Regions from separate parts of the Homo sapiens genome. Here region 1 is linked to region 2. The links are contacts of gene promoters, found by promoter capture Hi-C in human tissues and cell types (Jung and others, 2019). All regions are on one chromosome and are shown on one strand. Each heading gives the region's core, a stretch centred on a gene start or on the middle of the fragment in contact. The rest is flanking DNA. Distances are from core to core; before and after follow the strand shown. Region 1 overlaps TMEM108 (transmembrane protein 108). Region 2 holds the start of TMEM108 (transmembrane protein 108).

What was found. The method cuts DNA at HindIII sites, captures the fragments that hold promoters and counts their contacts. A contact is called where the count stands out against the background at its distance.
Region 1: a contact is called between a fragment that was not itself captured here and the fragment with the promoter of TMEM108 in region 2, in 1 of the 25 tissues and cell types used here (aorta).

What each region holds. Positions count from the first base shown.
Region 1 is chr3:133,074,390-133,080,708 of GRCh38, reverse strand. All of the region lies in intron 2 of TMEM108 (transmembrane protein 108), which reads right to left. Among named protein-coding and RNA genes, the nearest start is that of TMEM108, 39 kb to the right of the region's middle. The HindIII fragment of the contact is 3,118 bases long and covers 1-2,934 here.
Region 2 is chr3:133,036,997-133,042,869 of GRCh38, reverse strand. TMEM108 (transmembrane protein 108) reads right to left here and starts at 4,479. Exons shown (of 6, transcript NM_023943.4): 1 at 4,435-4,479. RefSeq lists enhancers at 1,311-1,605, 4,491-4,785. The HindIII fragment of the contact is 13,936 bases long and covers 1-5,873 here.

The DNA of each region.
Region 1 (6,319 bases), core at 126-2,625, 41 kb before region 2:
TAAGTGTCTACTAATTTCAGCTTCTGAGTGTAAAAAAAAACAATATATGAGTTGAATGAAGGAAATGAACACACATGTGAATAACCAAATATGTGAAGAGATATGAACAAAGAGCTATGGAAAGGTATATAGGATCATTAATTCTGACTAAAGAGCTCTGGGAAGGATTCCAGGGGAGAAAGTGTTTGAGTTGGGCCTTGAAGAAGGAACAAGGATTAGACAAAGCATTCCTTCCTTGAAGTTATTGTCAAGACCAAAGGTAACCAACATATGTCCTTACATGCAAAAAATATGGTGAAGATGTAAATGAGTGGCTTAGTTTCTGCATCATACTTTATGTAAATCAGTTATTTTGAGGCCTCTGGAAGTTAATCACAACTCAAAGAGTTTGAAATTCACCTTCACATAGCCATCAGTTCCTTATTCCTATTTATACCCTCTACAGCAATGAATGTAAAAGAATGGCAAAAGAAGGGGCCGCAGACAGTGGACATCCTGCCATTATCCCTGTTAGGGATAATGCTCTTGGGAATGCAGTTGAACGGTCCCCCATCTGTGCTCTCCTCTAGGCTTCTTTTTCATGTGTAGGGAAGCTTAGGCAGCTCACTTTAGCATACAGCACTATTTTATCAAGCATCTACCTTGGACGAGATGACAAGTAAGTATGTGGAAAGAGTCCATTCCCCCTAATTGTGGCCTTGGCCTGTAGCAAGAAGACATCTGTGCAAAACTTAGATCTCACACCCCAAGCATTGGAGTGAGGCCTCTGGCTATATAGAGAAAGCACTCAGCCTCCACCCAGAAGCTCCTTTACATGATGAGGCCCTGCCTTGAAGAGAAGGCATACCTAGCACCTCTGCCTCAGCAGGTAAGCAAGACGGTCACAGTCAAGCAAGACACACCCTTATTCCTCGCTTTCAAGCTTCGTGCCTGTCCCATCTGTCATTCATTTCAGAATGATACTTTGCTGGGGCCCTTCTGACCTGCAGTTCCTTACCTGCTGCCATAAACAGAATGTTTGTGTCCTCCCAAAATTCACATGCTGAACCTAATCCTAATGTGATGGTACCTGGACATAGGGCCTTTCAGACATGATTAGATCATGAACTCTCAAGAATGGGATGAGTGCCCTTGTAAGAGGGACTCCAGAGAGGACCTTTGCTCCTTTCTGCCACGTGAGGACAAAGAAAGTAGATGGCTACCTGTAAACCAGAAGCGGACCCTCATCAGATATTGAATCAGCTTGCCACCTTGATCTTGGACTTCCAGCCTACACAACTGTAAGAAATCCATTTCTGTTGTTTACAAGCCACCTAGTCTATATTATTCTGGTATAGCAACCCAAACGGACTAAGGCACCTGCAAAATAAAGATAATGACGAACATCTCAACAATCCCCAAAGAATCACTGAGAGGATTTATGTAACTCTGTTTTTTGAAAGACCCATTCTCTGGACAAAGTTCCAGATAAATGTATATGCATTGCATATTCCATCTCACCTGACCAGGGTTGAAGGCCCCTCTTTACACACAGGGAACAAATCCAGGAGGAAATAAATGGTTTAGTAAAATGCAGTCAGCAATTATGTCTTCCCCTTCGTAAGTCACAGCTATCTGATCCATTCTTCTAGAACCTAATTATATACCACCGGCACTTCTCGCTGAATTCAATATTTATATAACTATTATTATATTTTGCAAGTTTGTCTTCTCTTCTCAATTTAATGGCTGAAAGTTTCTGAAAGGCAGCAATCATGTTTTAAGCATCTTAACACCCTTACAGTTTTGAGCAGAGAATAACATGCAAAATAATATGTCAATATCTATTCGCTGGATAAATGATTTGAAAATGATCAGTCCCTTCAAAGTCTTTTTCCTACAAGATCCAACTATGATAAAATATATGTGTGTGTGCATCAGAGAGGGAAAGAGAAAGAAAAAAACATTTCATATTTAGTAAATGAATAATTTGGTATTTTGTGCAACTATTCTGACTGAATAGATAACTTCAAAGCTTAAAACTCCTCCAGTTAAACATCTCAATTTTTTAATTACTTCCTGCTAAGTTGTATTTATTCTTGAGTTGATTAACTACTTAAATTACTGAGTTGCTATCAATAATTAAAACTCAAAATATCACTAATAATTCTGTGGCCTTTCAGAGGGTTACAGCCTTGTAACTTGTTCATTTTTCTTGGACCCCTCCAAGCCTTAATCTAACCCTAGCCACTCAGCTCATCTCTACAAAGACCCTAGCCACTCAGGTCAGCTCTACAAAGCAGCTTTGTAGAGCATCACTTGATTGCCACAAGGGTATCAGACACCGCCTAGTTGTTTGGGAGTAACCTGTCTTCTAATACTTAAGAATTGGGTAGGAAGGCTGGAGCCATCCCTGAGGTGATATAAAATGAGTGCATGTCCGAAAGGACTGAGAAGAATAGGGAGGTATATGCCCTGTCGTCCACAAAAAGCAACTCAGGAGCACATATGTGAGTCACTAAAAACAAAGATCTGAGATATACACACACACGTGTGCGCGCGCGCGCGTGCACACACACACACACACACTGAGCTCCATAAACTCCACCATTTTTCGCCAAAACATGCAGGTGAGACAGCCTTGCCCCATTTTGCCATCCCTCCATCCACTTTGCTACATGTTTCCATTTAGGGAGTTCTCTATCCTCAAAGGCTAATTTTAGTTTGTATAAAAGTCTTAGTTTGGAAGACACACAAAAACCTGGCAGCATCTGGGGTGATCACTCTGAATGCCCCCGGGCTGTCCTGGGAAGACACACTCTGCCTGTTTCCTCAGAACACAGGCAAACGAGTCAGCCTGGGAGCAAGAGCTCAGGGAATCCTGGCCAAGTACCTATTTACTCTATACACAAAAGACAAAGATTAGAGTCCTTTCTCGAATGGACCATCTCTCCTGTATCCCTAAGCAGCAGGCAGAGGAAGCTAGCCAACTCAAAAGGAAGTTACCTGGCCAAAGGAAGACTGAAGGTGCAGGGGAATTTAGGGGCACAAACAGAAAAGGGAAAGTGCTTTCATTTCTGCCTTCTCACTTTGAGAACTGTGGAAGTAGTCTTCAGAGAGGAAAAGTGACCCAAATATCCCTCCTAGGGATAAAGTCAGCCTTTGTTCTTGCTCAGGATTTCACAAGATCCATCCTTCACCCCAAGAACAAAGTGGGGAGAGCAGAGTGCTGACCTTCCTGGGTCAGACAACTCACTGAAATGGGTGTTCCAGGGTGCTCTGCAGACACCCAGGTAGCCTGGACGCCCTATCTCACCGCCTGCCCCTGGCACCTCCCCTGGGCAGAACCCTACCTCATATAACTTGCTCCTGGCTGAACACCACTGCCATCACTACAATAAAAGAGAAAAAAATATGAGTAGGAGAATAACAAAGCACAATTAAATGGGCCCTTTTTCCTCTCTGCAAAAATAAAGCCCAAGACTTTAGGAGTATTGTTTGCAACAATTTATAAAACATCGGCTGCCTCCTCTGCTCACCGCCAGCACAGCCCCAAACGGCCAGGTACCCACTTGCTTACTTCTCTTGCCCTTTGTCTGAGTCTTTGACTGGCTCAGCCAGACAAAGAATGAGAAACAACTGGAGCCTTGCCCTCCCAAGTCCTTGTCTCTTTGCCTTGGATCTATCTGCTTCTTGGGCTCTAGCATGACTATCTCATGTGAGGAACTGAGGCAGTGCCCCAGCCCTCCCAGCTCAGAGTGCTGTCATTCTGGCTTTGATGTGGTAACTGAATTCTGATTTCTTGGCCTTGCACTTGATTTCTCTTCCTTTCGTTGGCTTATCCACAGATCTGGATCCCCGTATGTGACCTAAGCTTGACTCCAGCTAACCTGTAAAGGTGGCGCAACCCAAAGAGACTGAGCCCCATGGCAAAGACGGGCTAAGAAAGACTGCTGCCCATTGCCAAAGCCTTCCTACATCTCAACCCAGAAAACTGTCTGTTGGCCTTTGGCCAAATGAGGATGGCTGGGCAATAGAACTGAAAAGGTAATCAGTTCTAATATTCTCAACCTATTTACACTAGAAAAATCTGAGAGAATAATTTAAAGTGGAAGATTATAGGACATAAACTTTAAGGGCAGAGTAGCTTACTTTTTATTACACATACTGCATCTGCAATTTTTCTCTTCCTTTTATCTCCTTTCTGCCCTTCTGTTATAGTCAATTGCTTCTCCCAAGCAGTCCTGCCCAATCTCCAACATCATGTTACAGAAATAAGCAGTAAGCGACTTGGGCTTTGAGACCCAAGTTCCAATCTCAACTTCCAAAAGACCTCGAGGAAGTCTTTTTTCCCATCTATATCACGGTCTCTTTACATGCATAATGAGGCAGTGGCATCCTTGACTCCTCGAAGTGCAAGCAGAATGTTAAACTGTGAAACAGACACACAGAAGGGGTTATTATTACTATTATTAGGGTCACGACCTACTTTTATGGAAAAGTTCCTTATTTTTTAGTTTTATCAAAGCATAACTGATAAAAAAATTTGCCCACATTTAATGTATATATGTTGATGAGTTTGGACTTATTAAAAGTACATGTATTTAAAAATCTAGACCCTTAAATCCTCCTCCTGCCTTCCTCCTTACCCAAATCTCGAGGGTCCCCACATTACTCAGCACCACATTCCTTTGTGGATCATCTCCTCCTTCTTTTGGACCTTGGTGGTCTCCAGATACCACCTGACCCCTTACCTAGCAATCTTTCCTCACTCTTTCAGCCTCACTCACTTGCTTCTCCTTGAATGCTGTGTTTTAAAGGAACATCACTTGCTTGTGGCCTCCTGTCTTTGTCCTCACCCTTCAAATTATCTACTACTTCTTATTTGATTCACTGCTGGCACAAAGCAGGAGAATCTCCTTGTTTCCCACAGCAACAAAACACAGGATGGGCGAAATAGCTTCTGATCTTTCCCCAGGGATCTTTTCTGATATTTTCCCAGGAAAGGCAGATCAAAACCACAATAAGATATCACCTCACACCTGTTAGAATGGATATTATCAAAAAGATAAAAAGGATAGGTGCAAGGGAGGAGGGATTACAGCAGAGAAGGAAAAGCCACGGGGATGTGCTAAGGAGGAGGAGTGATGAAGGACAACAACAGAAAACTAGTGATGGTCTGGACTTCTTGAGGGTTAGGATTACTATTCAGTAGGGTTGTTTTCACTTGCTAGAAATCACAGCAAAATAGTAAGAAATGTTAAATCACTGGTGATCAAAGAAATGGCCAAAAAATCCCCCAAGACTTCATTTTGTGCTTATTTGCCTAGCAAAAATTAGGAAGCTGGATAATGCCAAGCATTGGTGGAGTGTTGGGGAAACAGTAACCCCCAAGAACTGCTAGTAGAGCGAAGTCTGGTAGAGCTATCCTGGAGAGCAATCCAATACTACTTAGTTAAATTAAGTATGACCCAGCAATTTGACTCCCTTGTATATATCCCAGAGGAATGTTGATGTGCAATCAAAAGCAGCTGCTGACAGCAGTATTGTTTGTGGGGAAGGGGAGCTTGAGGGAATCGAGTGAGCATCCCTGGCCGAACAGATGGATAAAAATGTGGTGGATGCTCTGTGGAGAAGCACAGCAAAGAGACGCAGCAGGTTTGATGTACCCATAGCAACATGGATAGAGCCTAAAATTGCAAGGCTTAGTGGGAAAAAAGAGAGATAAGATTTGTTATAACACATGAATACAACACAATACATATTTTATAATATACTCAAAAAGATGTATGGATGGTCCCTGGCTTATGATGGATCTACTTATTATTTTTTGCCTTTACAATGGCACAAAAGTAATACACATTCAGTAGAAAATCTACTCTGAATTTTGGATTTTGATTCAAAATTATTTATAAAAACTTTATTATAAAATAGGCTTTGTGGCCAGGTGCAGTGGCTCACGCCTGTAATCCCAGCACTTTGGGAGGCCAAGGCAGGTGGATCACCTGAGGTCAGGAGTTCGAGACTAGCCTGGCCAACATGGCAAAACCCCATCTCTACTAAAAATACAAAAATTAGCTGGGTGTGGTAGCACATGCTGTAATCCCAGCTACTCAGGAGGCTGAGGCAGGAGAATCGCTTGAACCTGGGAGGAGGAGGTTGCAGTGAGCTGAGATCACACCACTGCACTCCAGCCTGGGCAACAGAGCAAGACTTCGTCTCAAAAAACAAACAAAAAAATAGGCTTTGTGTTAGATGATTTTTCCCAACCGTAGGCTACTGTAAGTGTTCTGAACACATTTAAGGTAGGCTAAGCTATGACGTTCAGTAAATTAGGTAT
Region 2 (5,873 bases), core at 3,230-5,729:
GGCCTGATGGCAGATGAAATAAAGCAGCATTGGAGAAGGGAAAACTATATTGAGTCCTGAGCTTGCATCCTAGTCCTCTAACTAGTTCTCTGCCACTAACTAGCTCTGTTACCTTGGTCAAGAAACTCAACTCTGAACTGAGCTGTCTATAAATTGAGAAGGTTAAGTTAAATCATCTTCAAGAGTTTCTTCCTACTCTGAACTGTTAGGATCCTAAGGTAATGCACAACCACTTTTCTGGGAGGAAACATTAGCAAGACTTCTTTTTGCCCTAAGCTCACAGTATGAAAATATTTTATAAATAATTTTTAGTCTTCAGAAATAACTTATGAGAATCACCTAACCATATAACTTTAGACTTGGAAGAGATTTTAAGAGACATCCACCATCTCATCAATCTCAGGTGATAAAAGTAAGGTTCAGAAAGGTGAATAGATTTATTTTTAGTCACATAATAAGATGGCATTAATGGACTGTTGGCCTACCACTACCTAGCACAAGCAGGATTTTAGTATTTAGCATTGGTAGTAAAGACAAGCTCATCAGTTCACTTGAGAGACAGAAAGAAACCTCAAATAACCTAAGCCATAGGATGGGAACTACACAAAGCAGCAGGTGACTGGGGTAATTGCACCTAGAGGTAGCATCCTATACCTCAGGCAGAGTCAAAGCCGGGGCCCTCATTATACACTATAACCTTCCCATCTCAAAGAACAGTAAATAACAGCTAGAGAACAAAGAATAGTTATTTCAAAATAGGTGGATGGATGAATTAACCCTGACTAATAACATCATTAAAACCAAAGCACAAGTTTGGGGCTGCTAATATAATATTGAAAGGTCCACATTAACTAAGAAGATCTAAAAACACATTAGGAATTTTCAAGTTTTAGAAGAAACGAATTAAGAATTGTTTTGACCTATCTTCTGTGGACAGCCCTGAAATATAGTGACTACTTTATCAGCATTATTTTTACTAATACTCTCACTGCTGTCTTCAGAGCATGTACTTACCAGCTACTGTTCAGGTTTAAAAGTCACATGTATATTTCCATAGTCCCATCCATGTGTGTAGACTAGCTTCACATGCAAATAATTAGAAACGATTAAGTTGTTGGAAAGTTGGATCAAATCATGATTATTATGTTTAATTAACCAATACATATGCCGGGTGCGTTTAAAGCCTATGCTATGATGCTTGTCAGTTTACTCTCTGCCTTCTCCCTTCAGAAACGCACATGTACAGTCAATGTAATCACAGCCATTCCTCAATCCCCATGACACACGTTATTCCTACCTTATGTAAACAGTTATGGCTTTCAGAACTATTTTCTTTGAGATTTCGTTTGAGGGCTGACATAGCCTTTCAAAATCTTCTGACTAGAGGCTACACACTGCTGGTTTGCCAGCTCCATAGTTCAGCTCCTCCAGGAATTCCCAGGGGCAGCAGTGCCATCTACTGGTAAGGAGGGTACAACTTGTTTTCTGGGAGCCCTGGGGGGTGACATGAGCCAAGTGAAGGAACGGCAGCCTAGATTTAGGTCTCTGTGAGCCCTTCTTTTCTCAAGCACATTACAAGCATAACTGATGCTTACAACCTGAGACGTGTAACTACCACAGGAGCTTTCATCTTGTGAATGGCAGGTCCTCTGGAAGCCACATAAAGCCAGCCAGGCTAGCCAATGAGGCAGCTCTGCCTTGAAATGCCTCCTCAAGGATCCAAAAGCAGCCAGCAGAGCCCCACTGAATTAAACATTTCCTGGCTCTCCTCTTTCCCCAATGCTTCCCTATCAGATGATCTCACCCAGTGCCCCCACCTGTGGCTCTGTTATCCAGCTGTATCTTACAGCATGTGTCCTAAGGAAGGTACTCAGATCCCTCTCAATATGAAGGCTCTTATACTTACACAATGTGACACAGATCCTCCTCAGAGGACACTACTGCTTAGGCATGCAGGTCGGACTCTAATCTCTCTCATTCACTCTCTATGTTCCCCGTCCCTGACCCAGGGGACAGAAACGACAGAAAGGAAATGATTTTGTTGCTGCTTTGAAAGCAACACTAGTGGGCTTTTATTGAATCAGAGAATAAAACCTTGTCCTATAGGTCACTGAAGTACGTTGCTAGATGGACTAAGCTTGTTAATCTTTTTGTTGTCCCTTGCATAACCTAATCAGTGTTTCCCAACCTTTTCAAAATCCCTGCCTCCCTTCCGCAGGCCAAACAAACAATGCATACCCTTTGCGGTTTATGGAACAAAGATTAATTTCTCTCCTCTGAAAATAAAAGTGTATACTATGCCACCTACCTCACCCTCAGCATTCTTTTCTCCCCTCTACTCCATGCCACTTAAAAAAAAAAATTTTCTGGCCGGCATGGTGGCTCATGCCTGTAATCCCAGCACTTTGGGAGGCTGAGGCAGGTGGATCACGAGGTCAGGAGTTCAAGACCAGCCTGGCCAATCTGGTGAAACCCCGTCTTTACTAAAAAATACAAAAATTAGCCGGGCATGGTGCCTCACACCTGTAATCCCAGCTACTCGGGAGGCTGAGGCAGGAGAATCGTTTGAATCCAGGAGACGGAGGTTACAGTGAGCCGAGATCGCACCACTGCACTCCAGCCTGGGTGACAGACGGAGACTCCGTCTCAAAAAAAAAAAAAAACAAACAAACAAACAAAAAAAACTGTGATAAAGTTTTTAAATTATTCCCACTAATTTGGTTTGTGTGAAGTCTATCAGGTGACAACCTATATTTCACTTTACTAGGGTCATTTGTGATATTCTAAATGAGCTTTGCAGCAACTTGTTCTTTTACTTTCATTCATCTCAGAAAACCGACAAAATTTGATTTCCGGTGGCTGATAAACCTGAATTTGATACCCCTAACAAATTTAGGTGTTCCCTCTTAAAAAAATATATTTATCTTGCCTAGTAAACTGAATTCTTGGCAAGTGTAGGCATTTCACAGGCATGGGGTGTGTTTTAGAGGTTTGAAATCAGGTCATTTCCTAAAGAAACATGTTGTTGTACAGGGAATGTAAGAGCTATAAAGGGCTTTGAAGGTATCAGGATGTCTCCAAGGGACAAGGTAGAGAGACCCTTATCCATCTCATACCAGAAAGAGTTCTGAATAAATTACGTGGAAAGTCCAGAACACAGTAATATCTTCATAATGAGTTAGTTGAACCATTTCTTACAGAGTAGATTACCAGGTGTATCCAACAAATCAAGAAGTTAACCCGTGGAAAATTGAAGGGACTTTTTATGTTTGCCTATGAGCTGTCTGGGGAAATGGAGGAGAGGCAGGGAATACTTTCCATAGCTTGACCTGCTCTTAAGTTCCTGGACATACCTTCCCCTTTTTAAAGTATGATTTAAAGGCAACAATCCATCTCCCCCGGACTCCCATACAAACCTCTTTTGGCAGCCAAATGGTCTTCATCGAGCACACACTTTTCAAAGAATTAAGGACGTGTGAGTAGGTTTAGTTTAGACCCTGCCTTCCCTCTCCCCACAACCCAGTAACATGCTGAAAATAAGTAATAACCTTCCTGGGTACCCCCAGAAAAACCTGTTTGCAGAAACTACAACCTTTCCTCCGAAAAAAACCCCTATCTTCTTAAGGAAGAATCTCAGTGTGGTGGTCTGCAGTTCACTGCAGGCATTTCCCTCCTCACCATTTACCAGTCATCAGTTACGCTGCATCTGAAATTGGTTTTTGTAGACTTTCATTTAGACCGGCTCCACCGGTGCCCAACTGCTTAAAAAAAAAAATAGCCCCTGAACCAATCTCTGGATTCCTCCAGCAGGCTCAAAGCGTTCAATTTCGCTGCAACTCTGGGGTGAAAACCGCCAGGTCCAGCCGGCAGAGCAACCTCCCGGGCAGCACGGAGGCTCCGTCCCCGGCGAGGCCGCCGGCACCTAGGCAGGAGGGCTCTTCGCACAGCTGCGCTAGGAATTCGGCTCCGCTCGCGGCCGCAGGATTAGTTCGAGTCCCTCGGGCTGGCCAAAGTGACACTACATTTCTTCTTCTTCGTTTCCCCATGTGACAGGTCCCCCTGCATTAAAGCCACCTCCTCCTCGGCCCCAGCCCAGGTCCAGCGCTCCTGACGCCCGCGCCCCATCACCCGCACCCTCCACCTGGGGAGGGGGTTCATGCCAGCAACCCTCCAGGCGGGAAACAAAGGCGGAGGCAGGGCTGCCAGGTGGGCAACTCCCCTCGGGCAGACCCGTCACGCAGTGGGGAGGATGGGAAGGTGCCTGAGAGGATAGGAAAAGGGAAACCAAGGCAACCGGGGCTGCATCCTCCCTGAAGCTGGGCTCCCGGGGCAAGCTGACCCCACACCTCCCCGAGCCCCGCCCAGCCCAGCCTAACCCGCTTGCCGGGACCCAGCATGGGAAGGACTGGGGGGACGCCCCGGAGCGCCGCTTACCTCGGGAGAAGCGCTCCGGCTCCCTCCGACGGCTCAGGAGAAAGCCCCACCGCTCGCGCACGCGCTCTCGCGCACTCGCGCCTTCGCCCCTCGGGCCCCCGCGCGCGCCCCTCCGACCAGGCTCTGGCCCGCCCCGGCCTTGTCCGTCAGCGTCCGCGACAGCCAATCCGGTCGCACGGAAGGCTCAGCGCCGGTCACGTGGTGAGACCAGCCAATCACCAAATTGCCCTCGGCAGCGCCCGCTCCGATGTCTCTGGGGGTTCGGTTGCTACCTAGCAGAGCGGGTGCGAGGCGGGCACAAAGGGTCTCTGTTTTCGGGGGCTAAGTGGCACTCAGTTGATCAATTACCAGATCAATTGACTTCTCAAATTCTAATATAAATAAGAATCACTTGACTCTCTTGTTAAAATGCGGATTCTGATCCAGAAGGTCTGGGGTGGAGACCTGAGATCCTGCATTTCTAATAAGCTCCCAGGTGGCGATGACGAAGCTCTTGGTCGGAGGATCACGCTTTGAATTGCACCTGTCCGAAAGTAATGGCTGTAGCCCCAGCTCCACGTAATTTGAAACTTGCACGACCTTTCTTGTCCTTCTTCCACTGATGAGAAGCGTTCCTGTGGCTACATGGGGTGTCCCGGTGATGCTTACAGTTTGGGCACCAGCTGAGGGAAGGTGTGTTTAATCCCCACATTACCCACCCTTGGTCTATGGAGCAGCAATCATGCCAACTTGGTGACTGGAGTGTGGAACCAGAAGTGGAGACGGAATGGCCATGGAAGAGAACACTGTGTCTACGTTAATCCTAAAGGGTTGGGCGTGTGTGTCTGAGTGGCGCGGTGCCAGACACTTGGCCAGAGAAGTGGTATAAGTGGTCCCTGCTTCTCAAAACGTAACAATTTGTTGTAGAACTATACAGGCTAGTTCAGAAAGAAGCATGTGGAGAAAACATCCGGGAAGCTAACAGTCACAGCACAAATTCAGGCATAAGCTAAAGAGGTTGTAAAATAATATGCCTTGAGGGTCTTAAAAACTGTCCAAATATTCTTCTGTCAGTAATTCCAGAGTCTAGAAGTTAGGACTCCCACTGGCCCTGTCATTTCTCAAATTTGACCTAAGGACTCAGTGTTTTCGGACTGGCCAGCTAGAACCTTTGTCGTTCAGCGTAGCCAAGCTCTTATTACCCAGTAGTGTACCGCCGTGGTTCAAGATTCTTAAGTGCTGAATTCTCCAAAACCTTCATCTCTCATCTCTTGAAACCAGGTGGTATAACCCTGCTTCAGCATTTCTCTCTCACTATCAAGGTGATCAAACTGTCGCTTAGAGAAAACTTCACCTTTGTCAGTGTGTCCTGAACTTCTCTGGCTTCTCATCCCCAGAAGTGAAGCCCACCTAGCAATCTCAGACATTGTTCATCACATTGTCCCTATCAGAGATGGCAT